Linked DNA regions of Homo sapiens: region 2 is linked to region 1. Evidence: promoter capture Hi-C in human tissues and cell types (Jung and others, 2019). All regions are on one chromosome and are shown on one strand. The core of a region is centred on a gene start or on the middle of the fragment in contact, and the rest is flanking DNA. Distances in the headings are between cores, read along the strand shown. Region 1 holds the start of DMRT1 (doublesex and mab-3 related transcription factor 1). Region 2 holds the start of DMRT2 (doublesex and mab-3 related transcription factor 2).

Region 1 (6,392 bases), core at 1-2,500:
GCGGGAGCGAAGATCCTGAAGACTCCTCTAGCGCAATAAACCCTCCCAATTCTGTTGGAACGCGGGCTCTGGGATCGCGGGGAAGCCCAGAGGGGCGAACCCCGGAATTCCCTGCCCTGAGAGCGGGATCAGGGATCTCAGGGACCCGGGAGCAGAGGGAACCCCCGCAACTCCGCCGAAACACAGGGTGAGAGATCGTGGGGAACCCCGAGCCGAGCGAAGCCCGCAACTCTGCCCGGCGGGCGGGATCAGACGCGTCTCCGGCGCTCCCAGACCGGCGATGTAGCGTGGCCGGGAGCCCAGGACCCCAAGCGCCGCCGCTGTCGGCAAGTACCGCCGCATCTCTCCACAACCCAGGACCCGCATGGCAACGGCCATGCTGGGGGGACTTCATTCAAGAAACTCGGGCCCCGCCGGGAGCGGTGGCCCACGCCTGTAATCCCAGCACTTTGGGAGGCCGAGGCGGGTGGATCACCTGAGGTCAGGAGCTCGAGACCGGCCTGACCAATATGGTGAAACCCCCGTCTCTACTAAAAATACAAAAATTAGCCGGGCATGGTGGTGTGCGCCTGTAGTCCCAGCTACTTGGGAGGCTGAGGCAGGAGAATTGCTTGAACCCGGGAAGCGGAGGTTGCAGTGAGCCAAGATCGCGCCACTACACTGCAGCCTGGGCAACCGAGCGAGACTCCATCTAAAAAAAAAAAAAAAAAAAAAAACTAAGGCTGAACCCGGGCTCCCGCACGCCCGCACCCACCTGCGCGGCCATCACGCGCTGCCTCTCGGCGATCAGGTTGCACTTCTTGCACTGGCAGTCGCGCCACATGCAGAAGCGCTTGTGGCCCTTGAGCGGCGAGGCGTAGCCGTGGTTCCTGCAGCGTGCGCACTTGGGCAGCCGCGGGGACTTCTTGCTCCCGGCACCCAGGTCCGACGCCCCGGAGCCGGAGCCGCCTCCTCTGCTGCTGCCCCCGGCGCTCGAGCCGCTGGCCGCCCCCACTAGCGCCCCAGACGCTTTGCCAAAGCCCCCGGCTCTGCCCTGCGGCGGTACCCCGGGGGCGTGAGGGGCTTCCGACGGTGTAGAGGGCTTGCTGAATGCCTCGTCGTTGGGCATGGTGCCCCTAGGAGAAGTGCGAGCACTCTGGCCCCCTCTCTCGCCTGGAGACTGCTGCGAGGGATGAACCCGACGGACAGCGACGCTCCGGAGGAGGAGGCGCAGGAGACGTGTGCGCTGCAGCCGGAGGCGCAGCTGGAGTGGCGAGGTCTGGGCACGCCACGCCCGGAGTGGTGGGGGGTTGTGCCTTTTCTTTTGGCGCGCGCGCGACTCAGAACTTTCGGATACTTTTCAGAACATTCCCGGGACTGCCTGGGAGGGAGCGTGGCCACGCCCACCGCCCCCCGACTCCAGCCACCGCTCTCCAGCTGCTTGCAAACTTGCACCGGCTGCAAGCATCCAGGGCTTTGCTGCAGGGTCCCTGCAAGCGCACCGAGAGATACAGAGCGGCCTGGGAATCGCGTGGCACCCCTCGCCCCGCTCTCGGAGGCGCCAAGACCCGGTTGCCAAAGCACGGTGCACCGAGGAAGCTGGGCTCCCCAGGTCAAGACCAGAGCCGTGCTTGCATGCTTAGAGGAGGTGCAAACCACCCTATGGGGTCTTCTAGCTCCCTTTCCCCCAGAGAGACGCACCAGATTTGATAGAGCCGACCTTGGCAGCAGCCAAGTCAGAAAAAAATTTTTTTTCTCGCTTAAGAGAATTAAATATGAGGTGGAAGGCCTGAGAAATTTATAGGGTAAATCAGAGTTGCCCTATATACGGCAAAGAAGATCCTCAGTGTTGGGGCACAAGCACTTCAAAAATCTCAAAGGTTGGAACTTTCTGTTCTCCGTTTATCCCTTCCTGCACCTGTCTTCATTTGCTCACAACACTTCTACCTCCTTCGCTCCAAATAACTTTACGATCTACTGTTGCAGCCCGTGTTCCCGTTCACTTCAGGTGCATATAGCTTCTTGTCTGTGAGGCTGTTTAAACTTAGACTCTGCAGGCACGGGAAACTCAAACTTAAAAAGAAACATATGTATTAAAAAAAACTGAGGTTGTGGGGGGTGGTTACACAGATGTAGAAATGTATCAAAACTCATTCTACACTTCATATCTTGCATTTTACAGTATGTCATTATACCTCTACACACACACACACACACACACACACACACACACACACACACACCCCTGGCTCGATCATCTTACAGCCTGTCCCAGGGTTCTCATCCTGAACTCCCGCCCCAGCCATGCCTGTGTCCTCTCTGCACCTGCACAACAAATGTATCCCTAAGGCCTGCTGAGCAGTTCTTCCTACACACCCACGTGCCCCCCTAAGGCCAGCCCTTCACCTCAAGTCTGAATCTCTGCGGTAGCTCCCAGCTGCTATCTCCATGTCTTAGTCTTCCGGTATATTCTATACACACAGCAGGGGGCCCCAGCAGTACTTTGCTATTGTTTTCCATGTTAACAAGTTAAAGACCCCGGAGTGGCTCTTAATGCACTTTGAATGCTCCTTATTTTCCACCAGCACTGGTACTCACCTTCAGGATCCTGGGCCGCCTCCAGACCTAGGGGATTATTTCTCCAAAGAGGCATGGTCACCCTGTTCAACTTCTCATCAAAATGGTTGTACTGTGGCCACCTCTTTCAGCAGTTTGGTGTTTTCAGCACTGAGTTCTGAAATCCTCGAATCTGCCTTTGGAGCTCTAATTCTGAGGCCTCTCTCACAGGCCCTTTCCCTCAGTCTGAAATTTCTCCATTAGTATTCTCTGTCTGAAAATTACTTCCAAAAGAAGCTTCTAGCTTTACACAGCACCTCATACCCTACCTGTGAAACCAGTGAAGCTCTACTCCTGACAGGAGCTAGGATGCAACAATCTATTCCATCCTGGAAACTTATAAATGATAACCACTTAAATCTTCCATTAAAACAATCTTCCATTAAAACACGCATGTCAATTGCTGTTATCCAATATTTATGTTCTTTTTCCAGATTTATATTTTATTTATTTAATTTTTAGAGATAGAGTCTTGCTCTGTTGCCTGGGCTAGAGTGCAGTGGCACAGTCATAGCTCACTGTAGCCTCCAGTTTCTGGGCTAAAGGGATCCTCCTGCCTCAGCCTTCCAAGTAGCTGGGACTAGAAGCATGTGCTACCACGCCAAATTTTTTTTTTTTTTTGAAATGGAGTCTCGCACTGTCACCCAGGCTGGAGTGCAGTGGCGCGATCTCAGCTCACTGCAAGCTCCGCCTACCGGGTTCACGCCATTCTCCTGCCTCAGCCTCCCAAGTAGCTGAGACTACAGGCGCCTGCCACCATGCCCGGCTAATTGTTTGTACTTTTAGTAGAGACCGGGTTTCAACATGTTAGCCGGGATGGTCTCGATCTCCTGACCTCGTGATCCACCCGCCTCGGCCTCCCAAAGTCCTGGGACTACAGGCGTGAGCCACCAAGCCTGGCCCCAATTTTTAAAAATTTTGTGGAGACAGGGGCTTACTATGTTACTCAGGCTGGTCTCAAACTCCTGGCCTCAAGTGATTCTCCTCCTTCCACCTCCCACAGCACTGAGATTTATAGGTGTGAGCCACCGTGCCTGACCCATATTTGTATTTTAATATATAAACTGGAGCTGAATCATTCCCAAGGTCCTGTCCAGTTCTAGAGAGTGAAGTAGATGCAGGAGGAAACAGCTGTCAAATCCCAAATTACAGGGGAATATAGGTTCTTTATAAGCATCCTATTACTGGAATCTGTGAAGGAGGAATTTAAGCCCACAGAAAATTCGGGGCTAGGAATCTCTGTGACCAAGGTATTATAACATAAAATGTTGTGATGAAGTTAATAGCCTAGTAAATTTATTCACAAACCACAGAAGAGGTACCAGACAGGAGACCACCAAAAATAGAGACGGGCCCTGCACAGTGGCTCACGCCTATAATCTCAGCACTTTGGGAGGCCGAGGCGGGCAGACCACCTGAGGTCAGGAGTTCGAGACCAGCCTGGTCAACAGGGTGAAACCCCTTCTCTACTAAAAATGCAAAATTAGCCAGGCATGGTGGCACACACCTGTAATCCCAGCTACTCGGGAGGCTGAGGCAGGATAATCACTTGAACCCGGGAGGCGGAGGTTGCAGTGAGTCAACATCGTGCCATTGCACTCCAGCCTGGGCAAAAAAAAAGCAAAACTCCACCTCCAAAAAAAAAAAAAAAGTGGCCAGGCGCGGTGGCTCACACCTGTAATCCCAGCACTTTGGGAGGTGGAGGCAGGTGCATCATGAGGTCAGGGGTTCAAGACCAGCCTGACCAACATGGTGAAACCCTGTCTCTACTAAAAATACAAAAATTAGCCGGGCTTGGTGGCGCGTGCCTGTAATCTCAGCTACTCGGGAGGCTGAAGTAGGAGAATCTCTTAAAACCTGGGAGGCAGAGCTTGCAGTGAGCTGAGATTGCGCCATTGCACTCTAATCTGGGCAAGAGAGGGAGACTCCTTCTCAAGAAAAAAAAAAAGTCTGGGCGCAGTGGCTCATGCCTGTAATCCCAGCACTTTGGGAGGCCGAGGCAGGCAGATCACTTGAGGTCAGGAGTTTGAGACCAGCCTGGCCAACATGATGAAACCCTGTCTCTACTAAAATACAAAAATTAGCTGGGCAGGGTGGTGGGTGCCTGTAATTCCAGCTACTTGGGAGGCTGAGGCTAGAGAATCGTTTGAACCCTGGAGGCAGAGGTTGCAGTGAACCGAGATGGTACCACTGCACTCTAGCCTGGGTGACACAGTGAGACTCTGCCTCAAGAAAAAAAAAATAGAGACAGGAAGGCCCCAAGAATGAACAAATTTGTACTGGATATTTCAAGTAGCCTGGCTTTGTTGTCTCCTTTCTCTCCTCTCCTTTTTCCAGACATGGAAGCCATAAAGATGGTGATGCAGATCTGTATTTACTGAAATAGAAATATGTCCAAGACATATTGGTAAGTGGGGGGAGGGGCAGTTCTAAAACATGTCAGGGTTGGGCAAAGACTTCTTAGGCATAACACCAAAAGCAAAAGTGGGCCGGGCGCAGTGGCTCATGCCTATAATCCTAGCACTCTGGGAGACTGAGACGGGTAGATCGCCTGAGCTCAGGAGATCGAGACCAGCCTGGGCAACACGGTGAAACCCCATCTCTACTAAAATACAAAAAATTAGCCAGGCGTGGCAGCCTGCGCCTGTAATCCCAGCTACTGAGAAGGCTGAGGCAGGAAAATTGCTTGAACTGGGGAAGCAGAGGTTGCAGTGAGGCAAGATCACACCACTGCCCTCTAGCCTGGGCCACAGAGCAAGACTCCATCTCAAAAAAAAAAAAAAGCAAAAGTGATGAAAGGAAAAAAACTGGCAAACTGGACTTCACCAAAATTCAAAGCTTTTGTGTCTTCAAAAGATACCATTAAGAAAATGAAAATACAGCCTGACCCGGTGGCTTATGCCCATAATCCCAGCACTTTGGGAGGCTGAGGTGGGCAGATCGCCTGACATCAGGAGTTCAAGACCAGCCTGGCCAACTTGGCGAAACTCTGTCTCTACTAAAAATACAAAAATTAGCCAGGCGTGGTAGCGGGTGCCTGTAATCCCAGCTACTCGGGAGGCTGAGGCAGGAGAATCGCTGGAACCCCGGAGATGGAGGTTGCAGTGAGCCAAGATGGCGCCACCACACTATAGCCTAGGCAACAAGGCAAGACTCCATCTCAAAGAAAAGAAAAAAAAAAAAAAGAAGAAAAAAAGAAAAGAAAATGAAAATACAAGCCAAAACATTTTGTGAGAAAATATTTGAAAATCATATATCTGATCATCATATATCTGATTTGTATCCAGAATATATAAACAACTCTTACAATTTAATAATGAAAAGACAACCCAATTGAAAAATGGGTTTAATATGGCCAGGCATGGTGGCTTACACCTGCAATCTCAGCACTTTGAGAGGCTGAGGCAGGAGGATATCTTGAACCCAGGAGTTCCAGACCAGCCTGGGCAATATAGGGAGACCCCATCTCTGTAGATAATTTAAAAATTAGCCAAGTGTAGTAGTGTGCACCTGTAGTCCCAGCTACTCAGGAGGCTGAGGTGGAAGGATCACTTGAGCCTGGGAGGCTGCAGTGAGCTGAGATGGCACCACTGCACTCCAGCCTGGGAGACAGAGCGAAACCCTGTCAAAAAAACAAAACAAGATTTGAACAGACATTTTACCGAAGAAAATATTCAAATAGCCAAAAGATGTTCAGTGTATTTACTCATTAGAGAAATACAAATAAAAAACATAATAAGCTATTGCTTCACACTCACTAAGATACCTGTGATCAAAAAGATAGACAATAGCAAGTA
Region 2 (2,500 bases), core at 1-2,500, 210 kb before region 1:
GGGGCTTCGCTGGGGCCTGAGCCTGGCGGCCCTCACTCTGGGGAAACACAAAGAAATCCAAAGACCCACCGGCCGCCGTCAGGGACCATCCCTGAGCCTCCGGCCCAAAGCTCCTGGTCTGCCCGCCTCCGGCCGCTTGAGTCATCCTGTTCTCATTACATGTCCCTCACTTCCAGGCCACACGTGCCTTTCCTGTATCTCCAGGGCCCCCAGGGATCCACAACCCAACAAAGGTTTTATTTTATTAATTCTAAGTGCTCTGTGAGTACCTGACCTTTAACCGTGGCCCTCTCTGGCTTTACACGGGCTTTCCGGACAAGTCCCTGGGTAACTCACTTATCACACACACACAAAATATTGTGTCCAAATAGGCAGCCCCAGGCCACTTGTCGGATTTCCCCATACTCAACTAGTATGGCCATGATGCATATAAAACTATCCGTGGAAGAACAGTTTTCCTTTGATTACAAGTGGCCCTTCAGACTCACTGAAGTACCACTCTATGCTTCCCAAATGCCTCTCATCAGCCTACACCACCACAAGGACCCCTCCTTGGGCTTGAAGAGGTCCTCTCACCCCCCTCCCCAAAATACTCAACTGAAAACCAAAATTTTGTTGTCATTAGCGTCCCATAAGGGCAAAGAGCACAATACAGACGCCCGTCCAGCCTTAATAGTACCTGAGGTGCACAGGGCTGAGCCGCGTGGGCTCTCTGTACTTAGGCCTTGGTTTATATATTTAAGGTAAGGCATCCAAGTCACACAGAAAAGGTGAAAGATGATTCACGCCCTTTGCCCTCCCTGACACCCCGAGCGGCATCACAGCACTCACCAAAACTTTGAGGCCCGGGCTGGTAGCCCAGTTAAAAGATATCCAGCTTTAGGATCTGGCGCTAGGGCTGCTGGCTGTGCATGCAAACAGAAATCGGGGTCGCTACCCTCAAACACGAGATCGGGAGCTGATAGCTGGAGGCCCGGAACGAACCCACTGGATGGTGGAGGGGGAGGGAGAAGGTAGGTGGAGGGAAGGAGGGAGGAAGCCAGTCAAGTCCTCAGCGACCTAGCCCAGCACATCCCGAACTCTGCAAAGTTCTGCTCGGTCTTCTGCAGCCTCGGGCGCCTCACCTTGCTGAGGCCGCTTTCGGCTTCCTCTGACCCAGGCTGGGCGGGAAAGGTCGGGCCGCCCCCGCCTGGCTCAGATCGCTGGCTCACCCGGCGGGCGCGCGCAGTTGCATTCAGCGCAGCGCCACTGGCTTCAGTCTGCAGACTGCGCTCCCCTTCCTAGTACTGTCCGCTCAGGCCCCGGAGCTTTACGTCCTCTGATTGGCCGGTTGTCAGGCGGTGTGAATACTGATTGGCCGAGGCACGCTGGCAGGGAGCCCTCCGCCTCCCGCGGTCTACACTCTTCTCTCTGAAGCGCTCCGCCAGAGTCCGCCTACCGGGCCTTCGGTGCAGCCGGCTCGCCTGTCCAGAATCTAAACCCGAGGTATGACGGTGCCTGCAAGAGAGAAGTCACCATTTATCTCGCGGACTGGGAAACAAGCAGAGATACATTCTTAGGAATGCGTTGTCCACAAGAGAAGGTAATAAACGACGAGGAAGAGATCAGAAAGACCAGTATTGGCCTCTATCAGCATCACAAGCATTTCTGCGACTCAATCAATCATTAATCCAAACTGGGCGTAAAAATGATGCCTCTCTTTCGGGGCGTACAGCGACATCCTTCTTTCTCCTGCAAGAGTACATCAATGGTTACCTGGCACCGAAACTCCTAGTTAGCATACAAATAGCCTGTTGATATTTCTGTGTCTAGTGCCACCTATTCTCGAAGTGCCAAATAGCTCCTCATTAACCTTCACCGAGCCCGTGTGGCAGGTGGCCAAGTCGACTACAAGTCACTTACATTTTTCTGTTATATCAGTTGCTATTACAGTTAATGTAGGGAAGATCAGAAATGCATGCTATTAAGAGAATTAGGTAAATCCATTCACACTAAGCATGCATTTAAACAAAGTTATTTTTAAAAAGATGACTACTTTTTAGTGTGCGTAGTTGTATTTATAGACTTTCTAACGACTCCCTCAAAAAATCCTTTACAAAATGTTTAACGATAAAAAATTTTCAACATATTAAAAGAAGGAATTAGTCTTCTAATTCAACGCTGCATTCTATTTCTTGAACTCAATTAAAAATAATATGGGCGCTTTTCTAACTGCATCTGTAAATAATCAAGACCTCTCGAGTAGGATCTGTTTAGGAGACTACAAAATTGGGTATCATTGCACTGAGTACATAGTAGGCCCGCAACAAATATTTGTTGAAGGGTGGGAATTCCTGACGTAATCCCAACGTTACTTTTGTCCGAGTTTGTCAGAATGTTAAAAGTTAACCTGGATCAGAGAAGTGGGAACAAAGGCAGCTTAGGAACTACCGCGACCAGCCAGAAGCACTATTCTCAAACCTTCAGTGATGTTGTAAAGTTCCTCCCCGGTGACCAGGCA

The links. The method cuts DNA at HindIII sites, captures the fragments that hold promoters and counts their contacts. A contact is called where the count stands out against the background at its distance.
Region 2: a contact is called between the fragment with the promoter of DMRT2 here and the fragment with the promoter of DMRT1 in region 1, in 1 of the 25 tissues and cell types used here (neural progenitor cells).

Annotation. Positions count from the first base shown.
Region 1 is chr9:836,555-842,946 of GRCh38, reverse strand. DMRT1 (doublesex and mab-3 related transcription factor 1) reads right to left here and starts at 1,250. Exons shown (of 5, transcript NM_021951.3): 1 at 755-1,250. The coding sequence starts at 1,108. The HindIII fragment of the contact is 5,420 bases long and covers 1-4,133 here.
Region 2 is chr9:1,049,107-1,051,606 of GRCh38, reverse strand. DMRT2 (doublesex and mab-3 related transcription factor 2) reads right to left here and starts at 1,250. Exons shown (of 4, transcript NM_181872.6): 1 at 832-1,250; 2 at 1-37. RefSeq lists an enhancer at 609-1,478. The HindIII fragment of the contact is 14,990 bases long and covers 1-2,500 here.